Regions from separate parts of the Homo sapiens genome. Here region 2 is linked to region 1. The links are contacts of gene promoters, found by promoter capture Hi-C in human tissues and cell types (Jung and others, 2019). All regions are on one chromosome and are shown on one strand. The core of a region is centred on a gene start or on the middle of the fragment in contact, and the rest is flanking DNA. Distances in the headings are between cores, read along the strand shown.

Region 1 (6,304 bases), core at 1,251-3,750:
TATATTTGTTCGGCAGCATATGGTTAGGCAAGTTGTGCACTGTAGAACTCTATAAGCACCCCTTACATTGCCTACCTCTGTGAATGGTTCTTTTCCATTTCTTTTTCTTTTTTTAATGTTTTTTTTTTTTTTTTTTTTTTTTGAGACAGAGTTTCGATCTTGTTGCCCAGGCTGAAGTGCAATGGTGCAATCTTGGCTCACCTCCACCTCCCAGGTTCAAGTGATTCTCCTGCTTCAGCCTTCCAGGTAGCTGGGATTACAGGCACGCACCACCACACATAGCTAATTTTGTATTTTTGGTAGAAACGGGGTTTCTCCATGTTGGTCAGGCTGGTCTCGAACTCCCAACCTCAGGTGATCCACCCACCTCGGCCTCCCAAAAAATTACAGGGATTACAGGCGTAAGCCACTGTGCCCAGTCTCTTTGCTCTTGCTGCCAGGGCTTGTATTGCACAATTTGGACAAGTGTAAATGTCCTATGAATAGTATATCACAGTCTGTACGTTTTGCATGTATGTCAATTGGATTTCACCAAACAAAACCATATATTGGATTCAGTCTTGCAATTTAAAAAAGAAATCATTTGTTCCTTCACGTCTAGTTTGATATTTTCTGGTTTGATTCTAGTTTCCTCAGCTCCAGTTAAATTATCTATGGATGTTGATTATAGTCAGCATTAACTATCAAGGGATGGATTTCTCGCCTTCAGTTTTTGTCAGTAATTATTTCCGTTATTGTGGGCCCTTCATTTCAAGCTCCTTATGCCTTAATTTCTTCATTTTTTGTTTCTATAATACTGTGGACTTGGTCTATAAATGATGTGTTAGATAAATGCCTTCCATGAACACCTCTATTTTACAGCAACCATGGGCAGCATTTTTTTTTTTAAGTTCCAATCCTTCAAAAGGAGCTCTCCAAATGATTTTACCATTTCATCTCTTTTGGTGAGAGATTTAAAATTAAAACATCATTTTCCATAGAATGGCAACATGAAGACAGATGGTTTACTATGTAGCAAAAATAGTTCTCCCTGCCAGAATATCTCCTTTTTGATTGTCCCCATTTAGTCTCGGTTCTCCTATGACACATTCTTGGAGGTTTCTGTTCTTTAACTGAAACTCATCAAGCCAAGGTGACTAAAAGCTAATGTTCCCAGTGAGAATGGGAAGATTCATATCGTCTTAGAGTTGAAAGACCTGTGGATGTCATCAGGTCAAACAATCCACTACTAACTGAATCCTCTTCTCAATGGCTCTGAGCAGTGATCTCTAGCTTTAGCTTTGTCGCTTCCCAGTGAGTAAGAATTTTTGTCTAATTTCTGATGATTATCTTTGCCTTTGTGAATAGTGCAAATGATTAGAAAGATCTTCCTTGGAAATCAACTAGTAACCTCTCTTTCTGTGAGATCCTCTCTTCAGAAGAGGAATAGGAGAATGTTTAGGAGCAGAGCTGGGCACTACACACACCTCCCTTCAATCCTAGCTCTGATAGTGGCCAGCTGTGAGACCTTAGCAAGTCTGTAAAATGTGGATGCTGGTGCCTAATTCATTATTCCCTTAACAAGATTAGCACAATGCCCAGCACACTGGTGCTCAATGTGTGTTAGCAATTATCAATCAAGTATGCTTTAGGGAGGTAATGCAGTCAGGGGCAGGTGAGTGTGAAATTCAGTCCCCTTCTTCATCTTATTGTATAGGCAGTATCTCATAATGGCAATGAGAGCTCTATTGCCAGGCTAAGGAGGCTTAATTAAATATGGGCCTGGTGTATACATTAACAGGGCACCTACCTCAAAAAGTGCAGGGGAGTTTGAATGAGTCAATCCATGCAAAAGGCTTGGAGAGTGCCTGGCACCTAGGTGGCCATCTTGATAACCACAAGGATTTACTGAGCACTTGCTCTGGGGTCAGGCTTTGGGGACAGACAGTGATGAGGCCAAGTCTCAGCCCCCTGGGAAACACATTCCGGCGGGAAAGAGGCTGAAACAGGGAAACTGTGGCAAATGATACCAGCGAGGGCTAGGTCCCTGACACAAGGAAACCCAAGGAAGCATTTGGCTTAAGCGGTGACAATATCCCTCTCCTCAGATGCCAAGGTCAAGGCGAGCCGCGGCAACACCATCTCCCCAGACACACACGCAAAATCGGCCCTTCTCGGGGAAAGGGCAGGGGCTGAAGGGGGAGGCGGGGTGGGCGGCGGCTGGAAAAAAGTGAAATTTCCTCTCCTCCTAAAATAAGTCATTGGAGCGAGGAGAGCGAGCGCTATCTCAGTAGGCTGTGGGCGAGGTGCGGGGGTGGCGGGGGCACGCTCCGGGTCCGCCAGGAGGGGAGGGATCGGAAGGGGAAGCGGGGAGGGAAAGGTGGGTGGGAGGCGCGGGGAGCGTTCCAGGGCGGCTGCTCACGGGTGGCCGCAGCCCAGTGCTGGGACTCGCGCGGCTCCTCCTCTTAGCCCCCCACCCCTTCCTCCTCTTTCCTCCTCCTCCTTCCTCCTCCTCCTCCTCCTTCTTCTCCTCCTTCTCGGCCGGGAGGAGGCAGGGCTGGATCCCTCAGCCGCCGCCGCTCCTCCTCCTGGCAGGCCGGCCGCGGAGTCAGCTGACGCCGGCGCTCCAGCCTCGCCTCCCCGCGCCGCGCTCTGCGCTCCCCGAAAGTGGCTGCAAGCCGGCCGCCCACTGTCAGGGTTGGGGGGACAGAGAAAGTGATGTGCGCCTTCTAAAGCCTCGCCCAGCGCCGCCGAAGCAGCTTCACCTCTCCAACTTTCTCCCACCGACTGCTTGTCTTGACCCTGCCCTCCACCCTCCCCAGAGCCACTTCGGGTGCGCGCTCTTGGGTAAAGGGGGGGTCACCGGCTGTCTGGGATGGCTTCCAATTTTAATGACATAGTGAAGCAAGGGTACGTGAGGATCCGGAGCAGACGCCTCGGGGTGAGTATCGATCCTCTCCGTGTTGCTGTTCGCCGGTTCGATTGTCTCTCTCTTGAGCCAGCATCCCTGGAGGGTGGACGGAGAGTCCCCGGCCGCGCGCCGGAGAATTGCGCGGTGGCTTTCTCAGCCGAAACCCGCGTCTCCGGGGCTGTCACTGTAAGGCCAGCGTCTAGGTATGTAATGGATCTATCTTTATCTCTTGGATGACTTGGCTTTCTGATGGTGGCCGCGTGTTGGGCTTCAGTAGCCCCTGGAGCCCATCTACTCGAAATAAATATTTCTCGGTAGCCATGGAAGTTGGAGCTGAGAAGCCCGGGCGGGGGTGCCTGCCGGATGCCCCCGGTTCCCCTCTTTTCCCACTCGCCGCCAACTTAACTTTTCCGGGGGATGGATCGGCTGGTTGAGAAAGAGGACACGCATACTCGGTGTGAACGAGGTCACGAACCCTCTGACCCCAGGGAGAGATTTCTGCCAAGCGTAAGGTGTCTTTGGATCCCCCCACCTCTGTCCCAGGTGTCGTGTCAAAGGCGGTGCGGGCTGGCCTCTGGTCGGGGCCAACTTGGGTAGATACTTGAATCTGGATTTTCCGTGGTTCGAAGCCGGGGTGGTGGATTTCTGTTGCTGGAATACACCCTGGAGGTCCACGGAAGGGTTATTTACGTGGAACCTGATACCTGGCATAGCGCAAGTGCTCCCTACATATGTCCTGAAAGGAAGAATGAATGAATCTTAGGGCACTTGGGACAGATGTTGACACAGGCTAGCTCCTTCCTTAAAACTCCCTCTCTTTCGCCCCTTTCTCTCTTGGCTCTTCGCTGGAGGAGGCTTCAAAAGAGAACCTACCCTTCCTCTCCTTGGGACTGAATGATGGTGGAAGAATTCTTGAGGGAGAGGGAAGATACTGGAACGATTTTTTTATTTCCTAAAAATTTCAAACTAGGTCCCTCATTTCTCTTTGCCTCCTATCAAGTGTTGTCGCTGTTTTAGTTGATCCTGTGCGTTTGGACATAAGGGGTGAAAAGTGGGGGTGGAGAGGTGGCGGGGGCGGGGGGAGAAAATATCCTTTGGTGTAATGCCTGAAATAAGTATAATGTCAGTAATCGTGTGGAATGCCGCCATTGATAATGAGTGGTAAATTGAATAGCTTTCTTTAGAAATATGTGTCATTTGGCATCTTTCTCTTACTTGGTCTTTGGACTGTTTTAATGTGCCAGATACTTTTACTGAAAACTGAAAAGAAATTTCACAGTAGTAAACTCAGCTAGGGAGGGAAGCCCTGTGGGGAGGAACATCCGCAATTATTATAAAACTCTTGCCTAATTCGTTTTGGTCTTTTTCTTTTCTTTTTCTCCCCTGCTGGTGACCATGTTTTAGCGATTATGTCCTGTGTTATTGTGAATATATACATATGTAATTAGGGAGAAATGTAACAGAATTCACCATTTCCATCAGCTCTGCCAAAGTTTCCTTGGTTTTCTTTTCTGCTATGCAAATATTCTCATCTTCAAGAGCACCCATTGTTGGGGGTACTTTACTGAGTGACTCCCATGTAAGGGGCAAACAATAATGGGAACTTTCTATTTTTGGTATGCTTATAGGCTGGCCAAGTGTTACAATTTTAAGGGGAGTTAAGTTAAAAAAAAAAAAAACCCAGCATTCTAATTTAGCTTTACTCCATCATGTCAATGGAAGGAATTGGTATGAGACATCCATTCTGTGTTAGGGAGCATTCCAATGGGAAGAGGACATGCATTATTAATGCACAAAATATGAATTATTCATAAGGATCAGAGTTTATGCCAAATTGTGACACATGGTAATTTATTTGAAAAACTGGTTACCATCACTTTCTTGTTTGTGGTAACTGAGATTATTTTTTCTAGATTATTACAATTGACACAACATAGCCCTATGTGTGTGCCAACATTTATGGACAGATATTTGAAGCAGAAGGAACAGAAATATTTAGTTTGTATTTGTTTTATGTTTTACAGCATTTTGGATGCTAATGAGCAGTATACTTTCTCAAGATTTATTCTTTTTGTCTGTGTTCACGTTCAGACTTCAGAATATCTATTGAATTATGGTTATTGCTCATGGAGAGAAAAGGTCAAAAATATGATCAAGTAAATCTGGTCTTATTTGTTAGCATTGGTTTTCTCACCAGTTAATTTTTAAAATATTCTTATGGTATGATTTACAAAAGAGGCTGATTACATAGTTGCCAGAACACAGTGCAAACCAAAGTTTTAATGGAGGCTGCAAATATTGGTGAAGGATGCTGTACGGAATTGGCATGGGGACCCTATGTCCACAGTAAGGAATGTTAGCGGTATTAATCTAGGCTACATATAGTCTAGAACAGCATGCGACATGTATCTTCTAGGAATATGTGCCAGTCTCAAAGAGAGGTAGGGCATTTATTTTGTCTAGCACAGAGTAGACACTTGGTAAGTTCATGTTGAAATATGTGCTGAACTATATAGTGCATGGATGGTCTTGCCATTTATAACCTTTAGGAACTAATACAACAGCATTTATTAATGGAATCCAGACCATGTTTGGGACGGTTTATAATTAAATACAAAAACATTTCATGGTAAGCAGCTGTTCCTGGTGCCAAGGAATAAATGCTTCTTCAGATTTGGAGAAAGAGGAGAAGGGAACGCATTCTGCTTCTATTGCTTGTTGACCTTTGACCTTTCTTGGCCTCAGTTTCCTAGTCTGTACAATGAACACTATTTAATGTTCTTGGGAGCATTAAAGAAGATATTTGTGAAAATGCAATGAAAGTCTAGAACATTGATTCTGCTTGTATCATTTTCTTTAATCAAAGATGAGTTAGGATTGGTAGACGGATATAGGAATTATCTATTTCCTTCTCTTTCTATGTAGAAGTGTACAAAGGCATAAATGTTTATGCAGCTCCAGATTTTTTCAATGGATGAAACTTTTACAAATTATATACATATATGTGTATGTGTGTGTATTTTTATACATAGGAATAAATATATACATACAACCTATGTACATATTGTATAATATATAATATACGTATATTTATATATGTGATTTTTTAACAGGACAGGAAACATTCTAAAAACATTCCCATTCAAATGGGTCACAGATAAGTGGTCACCTTCATTTGAAATCCTAAAGAGTTTAAATGATTAAGCAATCAAATATGTATAGATTTATTCTCTTCTTTAGACATCAAAAAGCTTAATGAAATATAATTCATTTAACTCAAAAGTTTCAGTATCTTCACATCTGTATTCCCCAGCTTAATCCCCATTGTTTCCTGGAGGTCTCCAGCTGTGCCCTGGGTACTGAATTTGTTCAGGAATGTCGACGTTACTATTTGAGGGGCTGGGGGAAGGAGGG
Region 2 (6,304 bases), core at 1,085-3,584, 130 kb before region 1:
CTCCTTCCCTGCCTTCTTCGCTCTCCTTTCTCTCTCTTCCTTTTTTTCTATTTCTTATTCGTTGGCAGTCTTGCCACTGGATGTGCAAATTAAAACTCATTTAATCATCTGCATGCCAAGCACAAGGACTCAGTCAATCACGTTCTATGCCATTGGCTAGGTAATTACTTGAAATTTGCTATCTATTGTTTCATCCTTTGTTCCCAGCCTACTATTGACGTCAGAGGAGTTTTGCCTGTGAAAGAATGAGGTCTTATTTTTGTGTGTGTGTATAAAATATTCTAGTTTGCTCCAGACTTCTGTGCCCAAGTGGGTCTCTGGCAAAGAATGTTCTGTACATCCATCAACATTTAGAAGTGCAGTGATGGTTGCATGCAAAGTGGAAGTTGGAAATTGAGCAGAAAGAAAAAACCTTGTGGAGCGTAGTCAAACCGGTTACTCAAAGCTTGTGTTTTAAGATTTTCTTCAGCCTCTTGCACACTCATACCAAACGATAATATCCACATTTGCAGATTGAGAAACCAACATCGAACTACTATCTTAATTGCAGGACTTTTCAGAGCCTTTAAAGAGAGATATAGTTATGTCTTTGTCCTTATGGGAATAACCGGACCTTTGCCAAACTGAGAAAAGTTCAGGCACAAGGTAGACAATGTAGTGGATAGTGAGTCAGATTCTGTACCAGGAAGATTTTGTATGGTGTGAGTTCCTCTCTGCACTGCCCACCTTGGTACTTCCAGCATCTAGGATAACTGTTGCCACACAATTAAGTATTTGTTAACTACTTGTTTAAGGAATAAGTAGGTGTTTTTCAAAGAGGCTGCTTCAACCATGAACACTTATTTATCTTTGGAGTCACATGTCATGGCTAAGTTATGCCCTAAGTACCATATAACTTAGTAGTTAATACTGTAGTTAATACTTAGTAGCTAATACTCTAACCTTGAGGTTAGAAAGCCTTGAGGGTTAAGCTCTGCCTTTGCCCTTTACCACTGGTGAGGCTTTGTGCAATTAACTGAGTCTATTTAAGCCTCCCTCTCCTTATCTCTACTTTGGCTCCGTTGTAGAGATGGGGAGACAATGATCTTCACTCCACAACAGGTTAGTTCATGTCCTTTGTAGGGACATGGATGAAGCTGGAAACCGTCATTCTCAGCAAACTATCGCAAGGACAAAAAACCAAACACCACATGTTCTCACTCATAGGTGGGAATTAAACAATGAGAACACATGGACACAGGAAGGGGAACATCACACACCGGGGCCTGTTGTGGGGTCGGGGGAGGGGGGAGTGATAGCATTTGGAGATATACCTAATGCTAAATGACGAGTTACTGGGTGCAGCACACCAACATGGCACATGTATACATATGTAACAAACCTGCACATTGTGCACATGTACCCTAAAACTTAAAGTATAATAAAAAAAATTCAGTTCAATCCTGATAATTTCTTTATCAAAATAATTTCCATGTGAATCACAGCTTTATATGTAATAGAATAAAATATTTAACAAACCACAAAAAAAATTGATTAAGACAAGGTACATAAAACACCTTTGCATAGTACTTGGCATATAATAAACTTTCAGTAAATATTATGATTAAAGACTGTGCATCAATTGGTTCAATGGATAACTCTCAAGTAGAGTAGTACATGATAGGATGTTAATAGTACAAATTCTATATAAACATTTATATATGCAGATACTGGGTCCAAAATAAAAGTGTGGCACTACAATTACGTTGTCATTGTCCCCCACCAAGAATACATAGAAACATCAGGGCAGAGTTGATACCAAATCTCATAGAAAGCCTTAAAAATAATTATTTCAAAATGTTGCCCTTGATCAATGGTTCTCAACTGCAAGCAAGTTTGCCCCCTGGGGGGACATTCATTAATGTCTGAAGACATTTTTGGTTGTCACCACTGGGGTGGGGGCTGTGCCTGTGGCTTCCAGTGGGTAGAGGCCAGAGATGCTGCTAAACAACCTGCAATGCACAGGACAGCCTCCTGCAACAGGGAATGATCAATTGTGTCAGAATTGAGAAAAACCTTGCTCGGGATTTTTTAATTTTAAAAATATGTAACTTATTTCAGATTCTATCAGAGCCAATACATATGAAGATACATTATTTATGAATTATTTTCAGTGTTTAAAAGGGGATTAAGGCAAGTGGCTCTTTTTGGTTGAGAACTGGGTTCATTTCAGGGAGCCTGGAATATGATACTTTTCTTGGAATGCATTTGCCAGGCTGAAGGATCAGGGCAGAGAATTGCAGTCTGATGAAAATGCTGCAAGCAAATATCCTGCTTAGAAATGTTTTTGATGAGTCATTTCCAAAAACTCAAATACACTGACTAGTGACTAAGAGTCTAATTAACCCAGACGCCACTAAAAATAGGAAAGATCCATTGCACTTACGCGAGGTTTTCTGTTAAATCAACAACCCTGTGAGGTAGGCAGAAGCAATTTAAAGTCTAGAGAATACTAATACTAATAATGAGGGCTATTAATTATTAAGCATGGACACTGTGCAAAATAATGGCAGTAGAACAAGAGGAGGAGGAACTTAGGGTATGGAGTGCACGCCTAGCCCTGTCACCTACTAGCTGCATGAGTCTTGGAGGTTTATTTTGCTTTTCTGCATCTTAAGTCTTAATCTGTGAAAGAGGAATAGTTACAGTGTCAGTTTCACGGGATTGTTGTGAAAATTAAAAAAAAAAGCTTCCAAAGCACTCAGCACAGTGACCAATGCATATGCTTCTAATAAATGTAAGTTAATAATGAGAAGAATTCTCACAAAAACCGTACAAGGAAAGTATTCATAGTTAAAGATGAGACCATTTAGAGATGAACAAACTGTGTCAAAAAGTCCTTCAGTAAGTTGCCTAAGTTCCCTCAAGTGGTGAGTAGCCAAATCAGGTTGAACACAGAACTCACTTGGCAAGCCTTGTGCCTAGAAGAGTTTCTGGCATGTATCAGAACAACAACTATCTGTTGCAGAGGCAAAGGAAAAACCCTCATAGGTTCTGTGGCTGGGACCCTAGAAATTAAACATTAAAAGACACGTTAACAGGAAAAAGGATTTATTTCATATGCATATGAAGGGCCTCATAGAAATTAAAACCCAAAGAAGTAGGCAGACCTGGAGGTGTATATACCAGTTTAACAAAAGGGCCAAAAAAATTGTGGAGAAATGACAAGACAAAGAAAATAAATTTGAGTTTCTAGTGGTGATAAATTGTGGAAAGGTAAACATATGAGGAAAATAATGGAAGACTGGGTTATTTTAGGAAGGTTTGTTATGCAGACTCCCCTGGAGGCTGATAGTCTAGAGTTTCCTCTGGTGATTAAACACTTGCTGTGCCCTTTCTGGTAGGAGAAAGAGGAAGTGGCAACATTTTCACAAAGGGAAATCTATGCCCTGATTTTAGGCCAATGGGGGAGGGTAGAGTGCTTGTTTCTTGCATCTGTTGTTTCTCAATTGCTTTCTGCTTGAAATAGTCCTTACGCCAATGTGGCATATTTTGGGGTGACATATTCTAACCCCTTCACTACTGAATGAAGAAAAATCTCCTAATATTATATCTTCAGTAATCCACATTTTCAGCTGATTTTGCCCTGTTTATTGCACTTCCATTCTTGCTGGCTTCACATTTATTTTGTTTCTGGTCATGGAGTCAACTTTGGGTGCTCAAGTTTCCAGTGGGTGCATTAAAATACTCAAATAGCATAAATTGCACATATAACTTTGAAAAATTGCCCACAGAAAAATAGCAAAACGTGTTCATCTTTTCACCAAGAGCTAACTCTTGCAGAAGACAGGTAATCATTAGAAACCCTTCTACCCTAATCGCGTTGCCTGTATGTAATTATTGTAGTTTCCTCTGAGTATTCACTGAAAGGTGCCTTGAGAGAGAAAAAAATGTATAGGCTGCCTAGCAAAGTTAGGAAAAGCATGTAGAATGTATATATGGTGTGTGTGTGTGCATGTGCGTGCTTTGGTCACAGATATGAAGCAAGTTTCATCATGTAATTACAATGACAAATACAATGGCATTTGAATCAATTGACATCAGAATTGTAGGAATGGCTTGGAGTTGAGCTCCTCCTAATTATATTTAATTGCATAGTCTTGGATTTGACACTGAGTCTGGCTTGAAATGGATGCTTCGATGGGTTGAGTGTTTTTTCGCAGCTTGACAGGGTTGAGATGTAAACAGGAGCTGATAAACATGGCACTTACCACACCCATGAAGACTTTCTATTGGAATTTCTGTGAATGATTAATAGTCAAAAATTACAGCTCCACTGAGCTGTGACAGCATTGGATTCAGGATATGGAGACCTTTGTTTCCGTTATTGCTTACACATTTTAGAATCATTTGATTTTATTCTGGTTTATTTTTTGGCTCACTCCTCTGCTGATGAGTAAATTGAGGGAAATAAACACCAGAATGAGTCTGGCTGTTAAATGTGTCAATGTCTTAGCCATGGCAAGAATTCTACTGCATTCTCTGATGCAGTTGCCTGAGGCTGAGTACAGCTTGGGCCCCTTACCAACAACTGTTCTTCTATCGCCAGACTGGAGTGCAGTGGCGTGATCTCGGCTCACTGCAACCTCCGCCTCCTAGGTTCAAGCAATTCTCCTGCCTCAGCCTTCCAAGTAGCTGGGACTCCAGGTGCGTGCCACCACGCCCAGCAAGTTTTTTGTATTTTTAGTAGAAACAGGGTTTTACCATGTTGGCCAGGATGGTCTCGATCTCTTGACCTCGTGATCCGCCCGCCTTGGCCTCCCAAAGTGCTGGGATTATAGGCGTGAGCCACCACGCCCGGCCAACAACTGTTCTTTAAATGTTCTACTATCAAGAATGTTTTTCATATTTAATTTTTAAAATATTTCTGATATCTCTGATATTGGTCCTTAATATTCTATAAACATTTAACTATCTACCTTTTGAACTAATAATTCCTTTTATAATCTATTCTACACATTTTGCCCAAATATTGTAGGATAAATGTTAAGGATGTACATTTCACCATTATTTGTAACTCATTTATTCATCTACACATATTTTTTGAGTGCTTATATATTCAAGGCCTTGAGGAATTAGCTATAAGTGAACATTTAAATTTGTTTTTCTTTCTCTCATGAGGCTTATATTCTTGTTGAGAAAGATAGACAATAAACAGGATAAAGAATTAAAATAGGCCAGGTGTGGTGACTCATGCCTGTAATCCCAACACTTTGGGAGGCTGAGGCGGGAGGATTGCTTGAGCCCAGGAGTTCAAGACCAGCCCAGACAACATAGTGGGACCCTATCTCTACAAAAAAATTTAAAAATTAGCTGGGCATGACGGTGCATGCCTGTGGTCCCAGCAACTCAGGAGGCTTCAGTGGGAGGATTGCTTGAATCCAGAAGGTCAAGGCTGCCCTGAGCAGTGTTCATGCCATTGCCCTCCATCCTGGGTGACAGAGTGAGACCTTGTCTCAAAAGAAAGAAAGTTAAAATAGGTAATATTAAATTGTTAGAAGGCAATGAATATTTTCAGAGAGTATATAGCAAATTTAAATATAGTTGTCAGGAAAGGCCTTCTTGGAAATTGACCTTTGAGTAAAGACCAGAAGGAGGTAAGAGAGGGAGTTGTGGATATCTGAGAAGCGTGTGATCTAGGAAGAGTTAACAGTAAGGTCAAAGACCCTGAGGTAGGATAGTTCCTGGCAAGTTGAAGAAAAAGCAGGAAGGCCTGTGTGGCTGGAACACAGTAAACTAGGGAAAATCAAGGAATCAGGTGAGGTCAGAGAAGTGCCAAGTATCTGGGAGGGACCAGAGAGTACAGGGGTTGTTGGCCATTGAGATGACCTTGACTTTTATTTGGAATAAGATGGGAAAGAATAGGAAGGTTCTGAGCGGAGCAGTGATGTGACCTGACTTATGTTTTAGTCAGGTCATTCTGGTGGCTGAGTGGGGAATGGACAGTAGGGAAACAAAATCCTGAACTGGCTGACCAGTGAGGAGGCCATTAGGGACATCCAGCAGGAACATATGGCAGGTTGGGCAGGGATAGTGCAGTTGGAGGAGGAGAGTCGTGCTCAGATCTGGATATATCTGCAGGTTAGAGACAACAAGTTTATGTTTATGAACTACCTAAATGTCTATCAAGAGGATAATGGTTTTTTTTTTTTTTAAATGATGGCATTTCCATTTGTGATGGTTAATTTTATTTGTCAACCTGACTGGGCTAAGGGATGCCTAGATAGCTGGTAAAACATTATTTCTGGCATGTTCTTGAGGGTGT

The links. The method cuts DNA at HindIII sites, captures the fragments that hold promoters and counts their contacts. A contact is called where the count stands out against the background at its distance.
Region 2: a contact is called between a fragment that was not itself captured here and the fragment with the promoter of DOK5 in region 1, in 1 of the 25 tissues and cell types used here (aorta).

What each region holds. Positions count from the first base shown.
Region 1 is chr20:54,473,093-54,479,396 of GRCh38, forward strand. It overlaps DOK5 (docking protein 5), which reads left to right and starts at 2,501. Exons shown (of 8, transcript NM_018431.5): 1 at 2,501-2,920. The coding sequence starts at 2,855. The HindIII fragment of the contact is 11,986 bases long and covers 1-6,304 here.
Region 2 is chr20:54,343,092-54,349,395 of GRCh38, forward strand. No RefSeq gene overlaps it. Among named protein-coding and RNA genes, the nearest start is that of DOK5, 130 kb to the right of the region's middle. The HindIII fragment of the contact is 7,053 bases long and covers 1-5,861 here.